3 separate regions of the Homo sapiens genome follow, and regions 2 and 3 are each linked to region 1. Evidence: promoter capture Hi-C in 16 types of primary human blood cells and fetal thymus (Javierre and others, 2016). All regions are on one chromosome and are shown on one strand. The core of a region is centred on a gene start or on the middle of the fragment in contact, and the rest is flanking DNA. Distances in the headings are between cores, read along the strand shown.

Region 1 (3,457 bases), core at 958-3,457:
TCTACAAAAAATAGAAAAATTAACCGGGTTGGCTGGGTGCAGTTGTTCATGCCTGTAATCCCAGCACTTTGGGAGGCCAAGGGGGGCAGATCACCTGAAGTCAGGAGTTTGAGACCAGCCTGACCAACATGGAGAAACCCTACCCCTACTAAAATTACAAAATTAGCTGGGCATGGTGGGGCATGCCTGTAATCCCAGCTACTCGGGAGGCTGAGGCAGGAGAATCGCTTGAACCCCAGAGAAGGAGGTTGCAGTGAGCTGAGATCACTCCACTTCCAAAACAAAACGATAGGGCTGTTAATTTAGGTGGTGGTTACACGGGTATTAACATGTGTAAAAAATCACTGAGTTGTACATGTAAGATTCCTGCACTTTTTGTATTTTATTATGTGTATGTTAAATCTTAAAAATAAAAGCGGAGAAAAACCTGATGGCTTCCTACTCCTCTATTAGGTAAAGTAAGAATCTGCTCTGGTTTGGTTTCGGAGGAACTGTTTCCTGGTCCTTGGATCTACCTGGCTGAAAGCACAGTGCCTGGTACAAACTAGGCTCCTCCCCGATTTTGAATTAACGAAGTTCAGTGACATCGTCATCCTATTTTTTTTTTTTTTTTTTTGAGACAGGCTCTCGCTCTGTCACCCAGGCTGGAGTGCAGTGGCACGATCTCGGCTCACTGCAACCTCTGCTTCCCAGGTCCAAGAAATTCTCCTGCCTCAGCCTCCCCAGTAACTGGGATTACAGGCGTGTGCCACCAAGCCTGGCTAATTTTGGTATTTTTAGTAGAGACAGGGTTTCACCATGTTGGCCAGGCTGGTCTCGAACTCCTGACTTCAAGTGATCTGCCCGCCTTGGCCTCCCAATGTGCTGGGATTACAAGCATGAGCCATCGCGTCCGGCCTGTCATCCTATTTTATCTCATCTCCTCCTCCTCCCTTCCCTGACCATCTTCTCTGGAGTAAAAGATCTTTGCTCTCAATTTTGGAACACTTACAATTCCTTCAGCCACTCTTGTTAGGAAGATATAAGGGAAGAGAGCGAGAGACAGGAGGCAACTCAACGGCCAAACAGGTTTATTCACAGGAATAAGCCTGCAAGGAGTTCCAGTCAGGAGTCTGGCTGAGACCCTGATCGCTTACAAGCTGAGGCTTTTATAATATCGTTTCTATTGGGGAGAGGTCGGGAAGTGCTGGCTGATTGGGACTGTTGGGGACTTTGTTAGGCTATGTTACCTTCTGTTGAAGCTATGGGCAGGGTTAACATTTGCTCTGTTTCTGAGAACACAGTCATCATTGTTGTAAAATAGCATCACTACTGTTACTCCTCACAACTCTTAACTGGGATCAGTGAAAACCATTGTTGTTGAGAACTCTTATAGAATTTCTGAGCTCTTATCTAAATCATCTGTTGAGTCTTCACAATGATCTACCAGGCTGGTAGGAAACGGGAGCTCATAGAGATTAACCAAGGTCATACAGTTAGAATGCTGTGGGTCTAGGACTAGAATTTGATATTTACTCCAGGCCCCGTCTCTGTCCCCAACAATCTAACCACAAGTTAAAATTCCAAATTGTGGGCTGGGCGCGGTGGCTCACGCCTGTAATCCCAGCACTTTGGGAGGCCGAGGTGAGCGGATCACGAGGTCAGGAGATCGAGACCATCCTGGCAAACACGGTGAAACCCCGTCTCTACTAAAAATACAAAAAATTACCCGGGCGTGGTGGTGGGCGCCCGTAGTCCCAGCTACTCGGGAGGCTGAGGCAGGAGAATGGTGTGAACCCGGGAGGAGGAGCTTGCAGTGAGCCGAAATCGCGCCACTGCACTCCAGCCTGGGCGACTGAGCGAGACTGTTTCAAAAAAAAAAAAAAAGAAAAAAAGAAAATACTGTGTGTTCCTACAACACCTTTCCCAGACTGTGAGCAACTTGGGAACAATGATTATCACCTTAGTGTTCGGTGTGTTTTGTAGAGGAGGGCACTCACTAAAAACTGGTTTGTTGAATGCAACCACTTAAGAATTGGACATGCCGTGCCCAGCCCCTAAGGGGCGCTATGCTCGTTCGTCCAAGGAGCAGCGTGACCAGCGGGAGGGAGTAAGTCGACGTCCCCGGCATGTGGGGCGGGGAACTCCACTGGCCGGCAAGCGAAGCAGCAGGCGAAGACCACGCCCCCGCCGGCCGCGCTTGCGCAGCCTTCGCTAGCCCCGCCCCGTCCTATTCGGGCTCCCGCCTCTGTTCAGGTAGGAGGCGGTATGCGGGGGAGGGGAGTCACCTGAGGGCGGGGATCTCAGGTCTTGGGGAGCCATTGTTGGCGAACCCCAACTTCCGATACGACCCGGAGCTGTTCCTGCAGTTCCAGAGACAATTCATGGGTCTTGGGGCCACCGAGGCGCTGTCCCTGACCACCAGCACGAGACCCCTTTCTATCGCGCCAGTCCTGTGGTCTCCGCACCTCTCCAGCTCCTGCACCCCCGGCCCCCGTGGTTCCCAGCCGCACAGTAGCGTGTCCTGGGTAGCGTGAGGACCCACGGGGCTGGGCAGGTGCCACGAGCCCGCCGCCTCTTCGCCGCCCGCCGCCTCTCCTCCTCTCCCGCCCGCCGCCTGGCCCTCCCCTACCAGGCTGAGCCTCTGGGTGCCAGAAGCGCGGGGCCTCCGGGAGAATACGTGCGGTCGCCCGCTCCGCGTGCGCCTACGCCTTCTGCTCCAGTTGCTTTCCCAATTGAGCGGAAAAGCCGGGGCATGTTGCCGGGGCCCTGGGCGGGACGGTTGTGCCCTGCAGCCCGAAGCCCGCCGGGGCACCTTCCCGCCCACGAGCTGCCCAGTCCCTCTGCTTGCGGCCCCTGCCAACGTCCCACAGGTTGGAAACCAGACCCTGCAGCCCCCAGCTAGCCCGAAGGAAGCCCAGACTGACGTCGCAGGGTAATGGGGACCCAGAGGTAGCTCTGTGGGGCCCCATCAGGACCTCAGCCCTTAGCGGGGCTTTCTGTGTGACACCGTGGGACCTGAACTGGGGAGGTCCCCCTTGCACAGAATTACAAGGGGCAACTGTAGGAAACAATTAAATCTATTATGTGCTAAGTATTGAGAGTTCCACGGATTGAGGCCCTCTCTAGAAGGCTTAGAAGTGGGGTAGCCGGGGTATGTGTCTGACTTTGTGTTTTGGTGCGGTGGTGGTGAGTGGGTGTAGAAACTAATAGTGCCAAGTGCAGTGCCTGTCAACTAGTAAGTTAATAAACCTTCCGTGAATGAATGAGAAGGTTCTGTGACTGAGGGAGCAGGGCTAGAGAGGGCATCTCTGCTCATCCCACCCCTGCCTCCCCTGGGCTCAGGCAGACAAAAGTAATTAGGTTGAACCTTTAATCAAAGCTGGTTTCACAGGCAAGCAGACATGATAGAGGAGGTAAAGGCAGAAATCCTGGGGACACAGGGTGCTGGCCTGGCTCACAGGCATGCCTCCTTCCG
Region 2 (3,280 bases), core at 274-2,773, 290 kb before region 1:
GACAAAACATTCTCATCTAGTCAGCTCTGGGCCTGGGGCCAGTCCATACATTCACTCTGGAGGGCGAGCCAGCGTCCTCCTCTTGTTCTCCCTGCAGGCTCCAGGCTCCAGGCCCCTGGCCCGGTGGGCCTGGGCTCTGCACAGCCTCTGGCTGGAGACTAATGGCATTGGAGGAGGGGTCGAGAAGGCTCTGAAAGACAAGCCTGGTGTGGTTTTCCAGTCATCTCTGCGTCATCAAAACGCCACCCCGGAGCATGCTCTCAAGTCACCTGGCCATCTCCAGGGTTTGCTGGCTCACCCTCCACCTCCCCCAGCGAGCAAAGGGGTGGCCCCGCTGGGCAACAGACCTCTACCCAAATCCAGGCCCCTATTTGGCACTCCCTGGTGGAGGCGCGCCAGCAGATGTGGACCCCTTTTCTGAGGCCAGGCTGCTGGGGTCAGAGTGAGGCAAGAGCACCTCCCCCTCCCTAGAGCCTTAGTTCAAGAGGCCAGAAGACCCAGGGAGAAGCCGGCGTTTTGGGAGAAGGGGAGCTGCAGAGCTCCCCACCCAAGCAGGTCTGATTTGATTCTTCCCTCAGCTATGGACCCACAATCAATAGGGCTGGGGAAGACATGGGGTGGGGGAAGATCAGCGCTGCCGGGATCCTTTCAATCATCAGGAACAGCAACAGGTTTGCAGGGTCAGGCTGGGGACCCTCGCCCATTAACTCTTTCTTCTCCCTGTTTCTTTCTCTTAGGTGAGGGGAAACTGAGTTCCAGGGTAGGCTCCAGAGTGAAGAGGGAAGAAACATGATTCTCAAGGCCCAGGTCTGGACAAGTGTGAACACCTTGGGCCTGCGAATTCAGCCCCCTCCTTCCTTTCTCTGGTCAAAGGCTAGACTTGCAGGAGCTTGCGTTTGAAGGGACAGCCCAGAAGGCATCGTCTGCACTCCCCATACAGGTACTTCTGGGTCTGTGGGACTGGCGCAGGGTTCTTCTCCCAAAGCTGCCAGCACTGAGGCTGAGGCAGTGTCAGGCCGGCGGCAGCGGCAGTGGTGCAATCGTTCTGGGAAGCGATAGAGGCCGGCCTGAATTCTCTGTGGCAAGGGAGGGGAGCCCAAGTGGGAGGCCCCTTGGGGACACCGAGGACCAGGTCCGCTACTGCTCCTCCCCCAGGAGGTCCCCTAGGGGCTACATTGGCTGGCAGGGGCTGAGCAGCGGTGAGCCTGGCTGGCTTCGACCCGGGGCGACTCCGGGCATCCGGGACAGCTTCTCCTCGCTGCCACCTCGGCCAGTCAGACCCCGAGACACCTGTCACTACCCCCTCAGCCTTCCCAAGCCAGGAGCCTGGGAGTCCGGCTCTGGCCTACCTCCGGCAGCGCTCCTAGGCGCAGCTCCCGGGCTGGCGGCGCCGGGGCCCGCCCCCTAGGGCTGCGGCGCGCGGGGCGGGGGCTGGGGGCTGCGCGGGGCGGGGCGGGCCCGGGCGCTCCGGGCCCCCTCCCCCGCCCCCCTGACGTCAGCCCCCGGCAGCCTCGAGCTGCTCACTTGGCTCTCGCCCTCCGGCCGGGAAGCATGGGGCTTCCCAGGCTGGTCTGCGCCTTCTTGCTCGCCGCCTGCTGCTGCTGTCCTCGCGTCGCGGGTGAGTTCGCTCGCAGGGGGGCCGCGCCCCGGCTAGGGGTCTGCGGTGGAGCGTGCCAGGGAGCAGAGCCAGCGGCGCGGCGGGGTCGGGGCGTTGCGTCTGGGAGGACGAGCCTCCTCCCTGGGTCCCCGATCCCCGGGCGCCTTGCGCGCGAGCAACTCTTCTTTGCAGCCAGTTTGCAGCCGGGATTCTAGAGTATCCCGGGAGCAGCACTCGGAAGGCGGGGAGGAGGCTGCTTCTGGGAACGAGAAGGGGTGGAGCTCAGCCTTTCGGGGTGCTGGGGGGTGGGTGGTCCCTGAGGTGCTCACTCTGGGGGCCCGCAATTGAAGCCGGGCAGGAGGCGCAGCTGGGGCGCATCCTCAAAGCCTGAATTCCGCGCCCGCCTGTTGCTGGAAAAGGCAGCTTCCTTCGCTGGAGGGGGTGCGCCGACCCACCCCTTCCCCCTTCTGCCTGGGCATCACGCCAGGCTGGAGGTGAGCGAGAGCGGGAGGTTCGGCGGCTCCCGCCCGAGCTGGGCGTTGGCAGGGGTTGCGGGGCGGTGTGGGTCGCCTCGCGCCTCCCCGAGTGATGGGATCATAGGGGACAGAGATGAGGGATGGAGGATTCCCATACTGGAAGCGCCCGCTGGCTTATTTTGGGGACCACATTCAGGTGGGAAGTGCGCCCGGGCACCTCGGAGCGTTTCTCCGGATCCGCCTGGTAGCAGGGCGCTCTCGGGTCCACGCTGCCCTTGTATGGCCCGCAGCGGTGTCGCGTGTTTCTCTTGGCTCCCATTCCGCCGTCCCAGCCGCTGTCCGGCTGGGGAAGGGGAGGGCTAGGCAATACCCAGCTCGCTGGCCTCATGCCCAGTGCCAACCATGTCCCTGGGGTATTCCAGGCTACTGCCTCCCAGGCTGACTTTATTTCTGGGGAAAGGGCTAAATCGGGCTCCACAGTTGCAGCCGGTCCAGCTCCACCCTGCCCTGCTCTTCTAGCTCTGGGAGGAGTCAGGGGTCTGAGGCTCTGGGTTGGAGACCCCACCTTCCACCTGCCCTCCTTGTCCGAGAGCCAAGGTAACAACCCAGGCATCCCAGAGCCCAGGCAGATGGTGTCGAGTGACATCACCTCCTCACAGGGCTGGCAGCACGCTGGCACCACTGACGTCACTCCTGCCCACTGCCTGGCCCTTGCCCTGACCCCTGGGGGAGACTCTGACCTCTCCATCCTTACCAGCTACCTAGGGTGGGGTCCGCGGGTGTGTGCGGAGTGTTCATGGAGGTGCTGCTGAGGGAGCATGAGACCGGAACTTCCGCCAGAGTTAGCCCGCTGGGGAGTGAGGGCAGGGATTTTGGAGGGCAGAGGATAGAGCAGTGGTGTCTTCCCCTGGCGGTGGTGACACAAAAGGGCCTGTGTGCCCCAGCCTGGCACATGCTTTGCATTCCCACACTCTGAGCTCACCCGGAGAGGAGGGGGCCTGGAAGGAAAGGGGCCTTCCTCTTGGCCCCGAGCCTAGGTTGCCCCTTTCTGCCCCTCTACCAGCCTCAGCTGGAGCTGTTCGGTGCTCAGTCTCTGCTCAATCTCTGCTTGGCTCCAAGGACCTGGGATCTCCTGGACGGGGAGAGGGCTGGCCCAGGTGGGGCGCGGGTCGGGGTGGGGGTAGAGCGTTCAGAGGACAGGGCCCTC
Region 3 (3,216 bases), core at 717-3,216, 330 kb after region 1:
CACAACCAGCTGGGCGTGGTGGCTCAACGCCTGTAATTCCAGCACTTTGGGAGGCCAAGGCGGGTGGATCACCTGAGGTCAGGAGTTCGAGACCAGCCTGGCAAACATGGTGAAACCTCGTCTCTACTAAAGATACAAAAATTAGCCAGGCATGGTGGCGGGCACCTGTCCCAGCTACTCAGGAGGCTGAGGCAGGAGAATCGCTTGAACCTGGGAGGCAGAGGTTGTGGTGAGCCAAGATTGTGCCACTGCACTCCCAGCCTGGGTGACAGAGACTCTGTCTCAAAAACAAAAACAAAAAAATCACAACCACCATTAACCACTACCTCGAAACTCTGTGGCTTCACATCGTGGAGTGGGAGTTGTCCTCAGCTCCTCATGCCAGGGGTAAAGATTCTTCATTATTCAAAAAAGGTGCCATCTGATTTGCTTCAGAAGTCTAACATTTTGTGAACCCTTTGACACTGCCGTTCCAGGTTCAGGAGTCTGTTGTAAGGAAATAATACTACAGTGCATAAAGACATGAGTACTCAGGCGTTCATTCTCCCCAGCGCTGTCTGTAAGAAAAAAAGGAATAAACTAAAATGTTTATGTTTATTCAGTGCTTAGTGATAAATAATTAAATAAATGTTGACACATCCACATAGTAGAATGCTGTGAGGCCATTAACATTAGAAGGTGGTAGAAAACATAATAACAGCCGTGCACGGTGGCTCGTGCCTGTAAATCCCAGCACTTTGGGAGGCCTAGGCGGGCAGTATCACCTGCAGGTCAGGAGTTCAAGACCAGCCTGGCCAACGTGGCGAAACCCCATCTCTATTAAAAATACAAAAATTAGCCAGGTGTGGTGGTACATGCCTGTAGTCCCAGCTACTCAGGAGGCTGAGGCAGGAGAATCACTTGAACCTGGGAGGCAGAGGTTGCAGTGAGCCAGGATGGGGCCACGGCACTCCAGCCTGGGCCAGCAAAGTGAGACTCCATCTGAAAAAAAAAAAAAAAAAAAAAAACCAAGAAAAGAAAAGATACTGACATGGAAAGGTAAACATGGTATGAATAGACCCAGGGATGGGCCCTGTGGTCCCACTCCCTGGTGTTCACACCCTGTGTAACCTCCTCCCCTGGAGCGCCGGTAGGACCTGCAACTTACTTCCAGCTAATAGACTGTGAAAAAGGTGAGGGGGTTTTGCAGACATAATTAGGGTCCTAAGTCAGTTGATTTTGAAGTCAAGGGGGCATTTTCATGGGTGGGCCTGACTAAATCAGGTGGAAGTCTTTGAAAGAGTGTCTGGGCCCTCTCAGAGGGTCAGAGACTCTCCGTCTATTACTGGCTTTGAAGAAGTAAGCTTCTCTGTGGTGACAGGGCCACTCAACAAGGAACTACTGTAGTCTCTAGTTGCTAAGGGCCATCCCTGGCTGACAGCCAACAAGAAAACATGAACCCCAGTTCTAGTCTTACAACCATAAGGAGAAGAATTCTGCCAACAGTCTGAGGGAGCTTGGGGGCCAATATTAAGCCTTAGATGAGACCAGCTGAGCCTCAGATGAGACCATAGCCCCAGCCAGCACCCGGACAGCAGCCTGGTAAAGCTCTGAAGCGGAGAACCTAGGTGAGCTGGGCCCAAATTTCTGCCCTCAGAAAAAGATGTGTGTTGTTTTAAGTTCCTTATCATGTGAAAAACAAAGAGCAGGTTATGAAATAATGTGTAGCAAAATCCCATTTTTGACTTGGAAAATGGGATCTTGACACATACTTAGGAAAAAACCTGAAACAAATACCAAAACACAGATGTTATATAAGGACTACAAAGGTATTATAAAATAGGATTAGAAAGTCTAGATACTTCAGGAATTAAAAGCATAAGAAAAGAGTAAAATACTATGACTAGGTACCATGGTTTGAATGTTGTCCTCTCTGCAATTTACATTGAAACTTCATCCCCACTGTGTCAGTGTTTTTTTTTATTTATTTATTTTATTTATTTATTTTTTGAGATGGAGTATTGCTCTGTCGCCAGGCTGGAGTGCAGTGGCGAGATCTCGGCTCACCACAACCTCTGCCTCCTGGGCTCAAGTGCTTCTCCTGCCTCAGCCTCTCCAGTAGCTGGGACTACAGGCGCATGCCACCACACCGGGCTAATTTTTTGTATTTTTAGTAGAGACGTGTTTTCACCATGTTAGCCAGGATGGTCTGGATCTCCTGACCTCATGATCCGCCCGCCGCGGCCTCCCAAAGTGCTGGGATTACAAGCATGAGCCACTGCACCAGGCCTAATTTAATTAATTTTCAAGTAAACTAATTAAGTGAAGATACAAAGTTGCAGAGAAAGAACATCTAGATTAGGCTGAGGCTGGGCACCTAACAGTTAATACCCTTTCATTTGTAATTGACATAGAAATATATTTAAATTGGCTTAAACAACAAGAAGCAGTTACTGCTCGTGTTACTGAAAATGAATGTGGTTGAATTCAGGTGGGAAACGATGCAGCTTTCAACCAGGCTTCAGGATCTGCTCCCTTTAAATCTCAGCTCTGCTCTTCTCCATGCTAGCTTCATTCCCAGGCTCTTTCTCTAACTAAAATGTAAGCTTAGGCCAGGCATGGTGGCTCATGCGGGAGGATCGCTTGAAGTCAGGAGTTCAAAACCAGCCTGGGAAACATAGTGAGACCCTGTCGCTATAAAATAAAATGTAAATGTATTGCTATTTTTATTTTATTTTTTTAATATGGAACACTTCATGAATTTGCACATCATCTTTGTGCTGGGGCCGTGCTAATCTTCTCTGTATTGTTCCAGTTTTAGCATATGTGCTGTGAACCAAGCACTGTGAATGTAAATAAAATAAAATAAAATATCACTATCATGAGGATAGTGACTTTCTCTTTTTTGTTCACTATTTAATCCCCAACACTTAAAATCGTATTTTTATTACTGCACATCATAAGCACCAAAAAAATTTCCAGGAAAAAAAGGAGGGGGCCAGGAGTGGTGGCTTATCCCTATAATCTCAACACTTTGGGCAGGAGGAGCTCTTGAGCCCAGGAGTTCAAGACCGCCCTGGGCAACAAAGTGAGACACTGCCTCTACAAAAATAAAAATTAAAAAAGAAAGAAAAGAGGAAAAGAAGGCGGAGGTATAGCAGCACAACAATTCTGGAGCAGAATAAATAAGACTATGTTAAATACATTTTAGAGAAACCGAATAACACTGAAGACAAA

The links. The method cuts DNA at HindIII sites, captures the fragments that hold promoters and counts their contacts. A CHiCAGO score of 5 or more calls a contact.
Region 2: a contact is called between the fragment with the promoter of MCAM here and the fragment with the promoter of SLC37A4 in region 1, in 1 of 17 cell types (neutrophils). The highest score is 7.0, in neutrophils.
Region 3: a fragment that was not itself captured here is called in contact with the fragment with the promoter of SLC37A4 in region 1 in 1 of 17 cell types (M1 macrophages); the score reaches 5.7 in M1 macrophages.

What each region holds. Positions count from the first base shown.
Region 1 is chr11:119,029,627-119,033,083 of GRCh38, reverse strand. It overlaps SLC37A4 (solute carrier family 37 member 4), which reads left to right and starts at 2,207. Exons shown (of 10, transcript NM_001467.6): 1 at 2,207-2,235. RefSeq lists a silencer at 2,593-2,752. The HindIII fragment of the contact is 18,338 bases long and covers 1-3,457 here.
Region 2 is chr11:119,315,373-119,318,652 of GRCh38, reverse strand. MCAM (melanoma cell adhesion molecule) reads left to right here and starts at 1,523. Exons shown (of 16, transcript NM_006500.3): 1 at 1,523-1,618. The coding sequence starts at 1,552. RefSeq lists a silencer at 1,185-1,244 and an enhancer at 2,837-3,280. The HindIII fragment of the contact is 17,882 bases long and covers 1-3,280 here.
Region 3 is chr11:118,701,949-118,705,164 of GRCh38, reverse strand. LOC105369519 (a long non-coding RNA gene) reads right to left here. Exons shown (of 4, transcript XR_007062909.1): 3 at 327-557. It also overlaps the pseudogene RNU6-376P. Among named protein-coding and RNA genes, the nearest start is that of TREH, 24 kb to the right of the region's middle. RefSeq lists an enhancer at 1-451. The HindIII fragment of the contact is 1,242 bases long and covers 1,346-2,587 here.